Regions from separate parts of the Homo sapiens genome. Here region 1 is linked to region 2. Evidence: promoter capture Hi-C in 16 types of primary human blood cells and fetal thymus (Javierre and others, 2016). All regions are on one chromosome and are shown on one strand. Each heading gives the region's core, a stretch centred on a gene start or on the middle of the fragment in contact. The rest is flanking DNA. Distances are from core to core; before and after follow the strand shown.

The links. The method cuts DNA at HindIII sites, captures the fragments that hold promoters and counts their contacts. A CHiCAGO score of 5 or more calls a contact.
Region 1: a fragment that was not itself captured here is called in contact with the fragment with the promoter of B3GALT2 in region 2 in 2 of 17 cell types (M2 macrophages and M1 macrophages); the score reaches 10.4 in M2 macrophages.

What each region holds. Positions count from the first base shown.
Region 1 is chr1:196,655,944-196,660,537 of GRCh38, forward strand. All of the region lies in intron 1 of CFH (complement factor H), which reads left to right. Among named protein-coding and RNA genes, the nearest start is that of CFH, 6.2 kb to the left of the region's middle. The HindIII fragment of the contact is 2,518 bases long and covers 451-2,968 here.
Region 2 is chr1:193,183,970-193,188,641 of GRCh38, forward strand. It overlaps B3GALT2 (beta-1,3-galactosyltransferase 2), which reads right to left and starts at 2,644. Exons shown (of 2, transcript NM_003783.3): 1 at 2,050-2,644. All of the region lies in intron 10 of CDC73 (cell division cycle 73), which reads left to right. The HindIII fragment of the contact is 388 bases long and covers 2,365-2,752 here.

The sequences.
Region 1 (4,594 bases), core at 460-2,959, 3.5 Mb after region 2:
CTGACATTTTAACTTAGCCAAGTTTTTCATAAACCTTGTTAACTGGAAATGTAATAGATAGAAAAGTGATTATTCTTCCAGGCCGGGCATGGTGGCTCACACCTGTAATCCCAACACTTTGGGAGGCCCAGGTGGGTGGATCACCATGTCAGGAGTTCGAGACCAGCCTGACCAAAATGGTGAAACCCCATCTCTACTAAAAATACAAAAATTAGCCAGGCGTGGTGGCGCGTGCCTGTAATCTCAGCTACTCAGGAGGCTGAGGCAGGAGAATTGCTTGAATCAGGGAGGCGGAGGTTGCAGTGAGCTGAGATCATGCCATTGCCCTTCAGCTTGGGCGACAGAGGGAGATTCCATCTCAAAAAGAAAAAAAAAAAAAAGAAAGAAAGAAAGAAAGAAAAGGAAAAAGCAATATTCTTTCAGAAACTCCTGAACTGTAACATAAATTTAAGCTTAGGACACATAGGTCAGATGTACAATGGAATTACAAATGTTAGAGTTTCCTGGGTTCTTGCAACAGAGTTTTAAGTGCACTAAACAGTTATCACCTTGTCTTCTCTTATATTTTCTAGTCACTACTGTCTACTACGCTTTTTCCACAGGCTGTCCATAATCTACAGATATAATGGAAAGGCTTCCAGATAGTTTCATTGTTACTCATCTGTTCTTTCGCTCATTCATTTTTCCATCACTTTAACTTCCACAAGTACTACTTAGTAATACTTGGTACAATGTGTGTTGCGTTTTTTTTTTTTTTTCTCTATTTTCAGGGTCCTAATTGTACTGTCTCTTTGTGGCTGAGTTCGTTTTTTGTGACTGGAACAATAACTGGCATTAGAAATTAGCTATTCAAATACACATTTCAAGAAAGTTGTGGAATTTCAACCCATGTTCTGATAGTATCTTGTTTTATCTCTAATTATGACATACTTGTTATTCTATCCAACTTCATGTGACTATCGTCTATTCTCCTATCTGCTTTTTATGGTTCTGGAATTTTCTTCTTGCTCTTTTCACTGTTAAGTTGTTTGTTTGTTTGTTTGTTTGTTTTGAGACAGGATCTCGCTTTGTTGCCTGAGGCTGGAGTGCCCACGCTGGAGTGCAGTGGTGCGATCATAGTTCACTGCAGCTTCCAACACCTGGGCTCAAGCAATCCTCCTGCCTCAGCCTCCCACACCTAGCTAAATTTTTTTCTTTTCTTTTTTCTTTTTCTTTCTCAAATGCCTATTAAGTGTGACATAATCTCTATTCTGCTTTGTCTCTAGAGTTTGTTTCTTTAAACAATTCTTTACTCTGTTTACAAAGGTATATATGTTACTTCTGAAATGATCTTTATTCTCATGTTATTTATAAAATAATTTGAATATTTCTTATTTTGAAAAGCTAATTAGATCATATCGTATATATGCATATAGAATTGACCCTTGACCAATATGTGCTTGAACTTCAGGGGTCTGCTTACTATGTGAATTTGTTTCAACTAAACCTGGGTCAAAAATACAGTATTGGTGGGTTGCAAAACTTAAGCATAGGAAAAACTGACTTTTCGTACATGCGGTTTCCAGAGAGCCAAATGTAGAATTTAAGTATGTGCAGATTTTGGCCTGTGTGGGAGTCCTGGAATATATATCCCCTGTGTATACCAAAGCCAAAGGATTATTGAATAAATAGTATTACTATAGATCAGTGAGAAGATAAGAAAGAAATTTAATGCAAAATACCTATTTTTGCTATTTCTGTTTTGTTCATTTGCTTTATTTTTTTCCAAATTGATTTTGTAACTTTGCTTTATAATATATTCTGATACCTACTAAGTTTAGAAGTAGGCTATTTAAAAAATAATATCTACTGTTTTTTATGCACAAAATAATTTTAGAAAAATAGAATAATTGAACAAAGAGACCAACTTTAGTCTACCAAAACAATCTAGCACAAATTTGATTAAGGATTTCCCAAATATATAATTTTATCATGATTTATTTCATTTGAATAAAAACACTTTTCAACTAACAGTTAAAAGATATATTGACATTGAAAATAAGTAATTAGTTCTATGTTTGTATGTCAATAATAAGTAATTAGCTTGGTGTTTGTATGTCAATAATGCCCCCTTAAAATTTGAAAGTGAAAAAATTAGGTAAATTAAGATTATTAAAATATTAAGTAATATTGATTTTTAGCTTTGACCAAAATTATATAACTATTTTCCTCAAATTATAGTAAAAACATTCCTACTCTTTACCAGTAGTTAAACGTATTCACACTCTTAATTCATGGGCTAAAAAAAAACTTGATTTTGTTTAGTATTATTCTTACTTTTTTGAGACAGGGAATCACTTTGTCACCCAGGCTGCAGCGTACTGGTGCAATCATGGCTCACTGCAGCCTCGACCTCCTGGGCTCAAGCAGTCCTCCCACCTAAGCATCCCAAGTAGCAGGGATTACAGCCACCTTGCTCAGGTAATTTTTTTTTTTTTTTTTTTTTTGAGATGGAGTCTTGCTCTGTCGCCCAGGCTGGAGTGCAGTGTCGCTATCTCGGCTCACTGCAAGCTCCGCCTCCCGGGTTCACGCCATTCTCCTGCCTCAGCCTCCCGAGTAGCTGGGACTACAGGCACCCACCACCAAGCCCGGCTATTTTTTTGTATTTGTAGTAGAGACGGAGTTTCACCGTGTTAGTGTTAGTCAGGATGGTCTGGATCTCCTGACCTCGTGATCTGGTGATCTGCCGGCCTTGGCCTCCCAAAGTGCTGGGATTACAGGCATGAGCCACCGCGCCCGGCCTGCTCAGGTAATTTTTAAAATTTTTTGTAGAGACAGGGTTTCACCACGTTGCCCAGGCTGGTCTTGAACTCCTGGGGTCTATTGATCCTCTTGACTTGGCATGTCAAAGTGCTGGGATTATAAGCATGACCCACTGCATCCAGACTAAAACTAATTTTAAATTGTAAAATAAAGCCAAATGAATTAAAGCTTCACCAATGTAGTGTTTTGTAAACAAAATTAACTGGCAATTAAATGACTTGTAAACGTAAGATGAAGTATTCATTGTTTAAACTCAAATACTTAGATATGATGGCTTAGTCTACTCATTAATCTAGAATGAGAAAAATGAGATGGCTATTTCTTTTAGTTTTAAGATAAATCACATCTCAAAAAAATGTTTCTGTGCCTTTCAATTTGTATGCATCCTATTTAATAAGCCCGTTGTACATACATGCTGAGAGTTTGACTACTTGGGCCAAAATAACCGTTTGTTGTCTACTTGAAGGTGGTTCAACTGAGCTTGAACATTCGATTGTTAGTCAATTCAGGCAAATAAAAGTTATGTCACAAGATATACCTAATTATTATTAGAACTCAGTGCAGTGAATCATTACCTTAAATACTTTTGCTATGGCATGAGTTGATAATGATGTAGGACAGCAAGCCCCCAAATTGGGTCTTAGCCTGGGAAGGTTCTTGGTTTTGTCCAGTAAAGAATTCAAGGGTGAGCCTGTGGTGTTAAACAGCAATTTTTGTTGAAGTGGCAGTGTATAGCAGCCTCAGAGGCACCTCTCCTTGCTAAGCAGGGCTACCCATAGGCAGTGTGCCCACAGTAGCAGCTCAGAGGCAGTTCTGCACTCATATTTATATGCACTTTTAATTATATGGAAATTAAGAGGTAGTTAATGCTGAAATTGCCAGGAGGAGGATGGTAACTTCCGGTTGTTGGGTCATTGCTGTGGAAAGGGCCTGTAACTTCTGGGTGTTGCCATGGTAATGGTAAACTGTCATAGCACACTGGTCTGTGTGTCTTACAGGGAGGGGCTTCCACTCAGACCTGTTTTGGATAATCCTCAATTTGGTCCAGTGTCCAAGTCCCATCTCCTATCTCAATAATACTCAATACAATAATGGTTAGAACAAAAGCAGACAGGAAAGTGTATCTGAAGTGAGAAGACCTAGACATTAATGAAAATTCTTCCACGAACTATGAAAAACATTGTTCTTCAATTGTGGGGAGCTTACATTTTGATGTGGGGAGATAGATAGAAAACCTAATGAACAAAAATAGTTATAGCATTGTGAAAAATTTTGTGAAGGAGGTAAAGTAGGGCCTAAGAGAAAATAGAGATGGGGATGGTAGTATGTAGAGACATTAGGTGGGCTTGGTCTTGGGGACTAGAATGAGTGGATCACTTTGAGGACAGAACATTTGAGTAGAGGCCTGAAAGATGAGACAAAGCCAGTCATCAGAAATCTGTCGTAAAATTATTCTAAGAGGAGGAAATAACCCGTGTAAAGGATCTAAGGAAAAAATAAGTTTGAAATGCTCAACAAAATATAAACAAATAAATCAGCGTGACTTTGCACAGTAAATACATGGGAGATTTAACATGATGAGATCCGAGAAAGTGGCAAGAGCCAGATAAGGGGTTCCCAAACCAAGGAAAGGAGTTAGCAATGCTGGATAAGTAAAAAGTGAAGTCATAGAAGAATTTTAATCACAGGAATGACATGACCAGATTTGCAAGAATCACTTGTCACTCTGTGAATAGACTGAAGTAACAGGAGAGTAGAGGACTGGAGGCTAGTTAGCAGGCAAGTTTCATGA
Region 2 (4,672 bases), core at 1,394-3,893:
TTTATGTTGCTTTTATAAGAACAATATACCTGAAGATGTCTCTAAAGTATTTTAGTATTACAGAAAACAGCAAATTATTGCATATTGTAATGTAGCATAAATACATAGTTTTGGTCCTAATATGATTTTGTAACAGTATGTGATAGAGATGCATCTTAATTTAGACTTCATGGTATTTGTATGTTTTAGATGTTAAGCTGTTGAGATATTAAATCCATATATAACTATAAATCTCCCATTGATAAATGAAGTGCATGTGTCTAGCCTTTAAAAAATTCCTTATTAAAAGATTCTCAGGTCTTATAAATTTTTTTGTTAAAAAGAATATAAAATTAAAATAACCATGCCTGCTTTTTATTAAATGATAAAATTATTCTCCAGTTATTGCCTGTTGTATTTTAATTCTTAAAAAGAGAGAGCAAAACAAGAAAGTTCAGTAGTATGCAAAATAGTTCTGCACTTTTACATTTTTAGAAGAGAAATAGCTTTGGTTTATCTCTTCTTTTTTGATATCTTCACATTATTAATGTGTATTTATAGCTTGTGGATGAAGTTCATGGGGAGAATGTTACTGTAAAATGCTGTTCAGTACACACTCAGTTTTTATCATTTGGCTTTTAAAAGTGTTGATCTCTTTAGTCTGTTGGTGATGGTTTAATAGAAAAACTTACACTTTTGTTTTGAGATGTATAGCTTATAAAACTGCTTAATTGGTGACTTCAATATTGAGAGATTAAGGTACCAAGAGGGACTTGAAATTTTTACAACCATATTTTTTAGTACTATTTATTATTAGTCTTTATTAGAATAAAAATTCATGGGTGAGAGTGATGTTGAGGTGTAATAGAGTCTGGTAAACTTGTTTAATCTTCATTTTGGAATGCAGTACTTACATATTTTTAAAAAATGTTTGCCTTTTGTGATTATTAGATAATTACTGAGTTGTGTTGTGAAATTGAGGAAAAATCAGGATCTTTGATAGATTTGTAGAATTTTAGAAATATCTTTAAGTTCTTGAGCCCTGAGTTGCTGTTCTATGATTGTTGCTAAAATAGTTTATTTGGTTTATCTGTGCCCTGCACACACATATAGTGGCGGTAGTTCATTACTGCATATTAATATAGCCTGGAAGCATAGTAGCTACATTTATATTTAATTTTTTGACCTTGTATTGCCATTTGTGGATATTTTTGTATCAAAGTATTTCCATATTATGTTTTTGAATTTCACTTCTGAAATGATAATCAGAGACAACGTTAAATTTGATCATTTGGAATCAGTCTTTTACATAAAATGTAAGCTATTTAAAATAGTTAATTTTTAAAGCCACTATTGATGTCCCTTTGTTTAAAGTTCTATTCATGGTCACTATAATAACACGAGGCTCTATTGTGGGGTTATGCATAAACTCACACTACCTTATGTGATCTTATGTTAATGCTTTCCTTTTAGTATCTTCTTGTAGCTTGGTAATATTTAAAATTTGTTGATACTCTCTTTGGTTGTGTTCATTATCTTCATTTAGGGAGATGTTGGGGAAGATTTTGTTACTAAAAGCTGTTACATATTAAGGTTTTGTTTTAAAAGGACTTTGAAAAAAAAACTCTTAAGGTTTTCCTTGCTACTATTTAATGAAATTTCACTGCATTGTGTCTTTTGATAGCCATTTTTAAGAGAGCATTTAATTTACTAGATAAGGATTCAGTTTGACCTAATTTGATAGAATATTGCTGTGTTTTTTGTAAAGGGCTACAGATTTTTTTTTAAGTTTAATTTCTTAAGGAATCCTTTAAACACATCTTCTTCTTATTTGCCTTTTCCCTCTGATGTCTATTACCCAGAATTACTCCAAGCTACATATTTAGCTGCATAAAGCAGTGACAGCTTGTCTTCTAAACAATGACAAATTTTAAAATCAGATATTAAGAAACCTTTTCATAGTTTCAAGGGCAGTGAGCTGTATGAACTTGCTTATCAGGTATTAGTGCCTCCAGGGCTATAAAAAGGTAACACATTTAAATGACTATCATACACAAGATATTGACATACCTTCCTTGGTCAGGCCATTTATGTGAAGAGGATTATGCCCACTGAAAATACTTTTGGCACGCCATCACTTCAGCAAAAAAGATGCTATCGAACATGCGCACATCCCCCAACAGTCTGCCTCCTGCGATTGCTTTTCACAGTATCCAAAGTGTCCATCTGTCTGCTTGTCTTCGAGTTACCCTCCTTGTTCATATGGGTCCTAGTCTTCTGAAATTTTCCCTTTCTTTCATTTTCTCTCTTTCGTTAAACAAAAGAGCTGTAGTTGCCCGTTCTGCTTGTAGCACTGTTGACTCTTCCCGACAGTTGATGCATTGAAGCTTTTTACATCTGCTATTTTCCTGGCTGGACAATGCAGTGCTGTGTTCTCGTCTCAGTATCCATATTTCTACTAATAACACTGAGCTGCAATGTAAAGCAGCCAGAGCTAAAATGTAGTGCTTCAGTTGTATTGGAAAAGAATAGGATTTACCTCTCTTCTTTCGTTGTTGCCTGGCAGCTGCAGGAAGGATTTTGAGCAGTTTTAATGGGGTTTTAGTCTATAATATGAAATCCACGGTTCCTCAGCTGCTGCACAGGCAGGCAGCAGTTTAAATGTGGGCTTGACAGATGCTCTCTCTGACAGAGCAGAATTTAACGTCACTGCTTGGCTGAATCCCACGTGATTGTTTGCATTCATTTTGACTAAAAACCTAAGGTAGGGAGAAGCTTAGAGATTTTGCTTTTATGTGATAAATTATATATGTTGAATGCAAGTGTAGTGATGAGTGAATAATTTGAAAATGTGATGATTATGAAATGGTTATGATTTTATTTTTTCCAGCTTACTTCCTTTTTTAACTTTATTCTTAAGTACAGGCTTTCTAAGTGTTTTCTGTGTTAGATGTTGGTTTTCATGTTTCTTACATGCTTTTGTAGGGTGTAAGCAGTATAAGCTTTTGTGTGTAAGTTGGTGTAATTTAACCCCTTCAGTGCATTCTCTTCTTGAAGTTTTTTTTCTCTGCTTTCAAATTGCTCTTGATTTTTTACTAATATGTAGTTAAGACCTATGGTTTCTATTGAAACCATGTATCTTTGTAATTTAGATCCCCCCCCCCGTTTTCTGGGGTTTGTATAAATAAGCTGTCTTGGATTACTTTACTAATGCATGATGTGATACAGCCCACTTCTTTTTTGCTCTTATGTGGTTTTTGGTGTTCTTGATGGCAGAAAACTTTATTTTAAATCACTTTTTAATGTTGTCATTTATTTTTTATTTATTTTTCCTTCCCTTTAAAATTACATGTATCGTAGAATTCAGTAAAATGATGTAATAGATATAGCACACTTGTACAGGATCTGGGGGTAATGAGATTTTACTAATTATGTTTACTTATTCTAATGTTTCAGAAAGATTTAATAACTTGCCATGAGGCAGATTTTATTAACACTACACACTCACTGAGATTTTTCTAATATGGTTAGTTTCTGGGGCTGGCACCTTCTTTTCTTACTGCAGAGCAGTAGGGAAGGTTTTTTTAAATTTTTTGTTGTAGTAAAAAGCCTTTATTATCAGTTTTTCCTCTGTGACTCTAGGGACAGTAATTCAGTCCTAGAAAGTTATAGTTTTGGAGCTTAAGCTAAAGGTTAACAGTTATATACATATTCTTCATCTCACTGCCTCCACCATTAATATATGCTATTTCAAATGAATATGAATTTGTTTTCTCTGATATTAAAAAAAATTTTGTCCACATATTTTTGAGCTTTGCTGATGAAATGTGCTTTGTAGTTTTAAGAACCCCACTGTATTAGAAATGTTAGAAGGATCGTTAAAGAAAAAAAAGAATTTTATAAATAGGAAACCTAAAGCCTAGACTGAGCTTTGACTTTTCCTAGTTAAGTTTGAAGGAGAGGACTAAAACCCAACTTCCTTGTAGTCTATATCCACCCATACTGCAATTCTCACTCACTACCGTTTTGTTTTTAAAATTAGTTTACTAGTTAACAGAGTAATGCTTAAGAACTTACTTAAAATAACTTATTTTCCAGAAGTACAGATGTGTTTTTGTAGATCAGTATTTATTTATCAGTGATTCTTTACATAGGATTTGACTATGAAGCTAGCCACAATGACCATTTATGGAGTATTTACTGAAAATCAGATTGCGTGCTAAGCTTACTTGAGCTGTTATGCAAATGGCTCTTTTCTAATAATTTTATTATTGTAATACCCACTTAAAAGATGCAGAACCAGTGCCTGGAGTTGTAAAATAGTCCAAATGTCAGATAAATACTGATAAGAATAGAGGCCAAGCTGGGAATTGAAGCAAGATTATCTAAATTCTTATCCTCTGTGTTTTTGTTTTCTTTTTAAATCTATCTAGTACTATCATTATTCTCTGTTCTTAAACTTTTTATTACATGGCACTGCTAGAGAAATTGTGGGATTTTTTTTTTTTCTGAACACTGGCGCAGCATACCCAGGAATCATTAATAGAATAATAAATGAATGTTTATATTTTCACTTTTTCAACAGGTACATATTGATTAACTACTGTGTACCAACATGTGCATTTAGGCATAGCTTATTAAGTATAGGGGATACAAAGTTGATTTAGAGACATTCCCTACCCCTTTCTCCAGG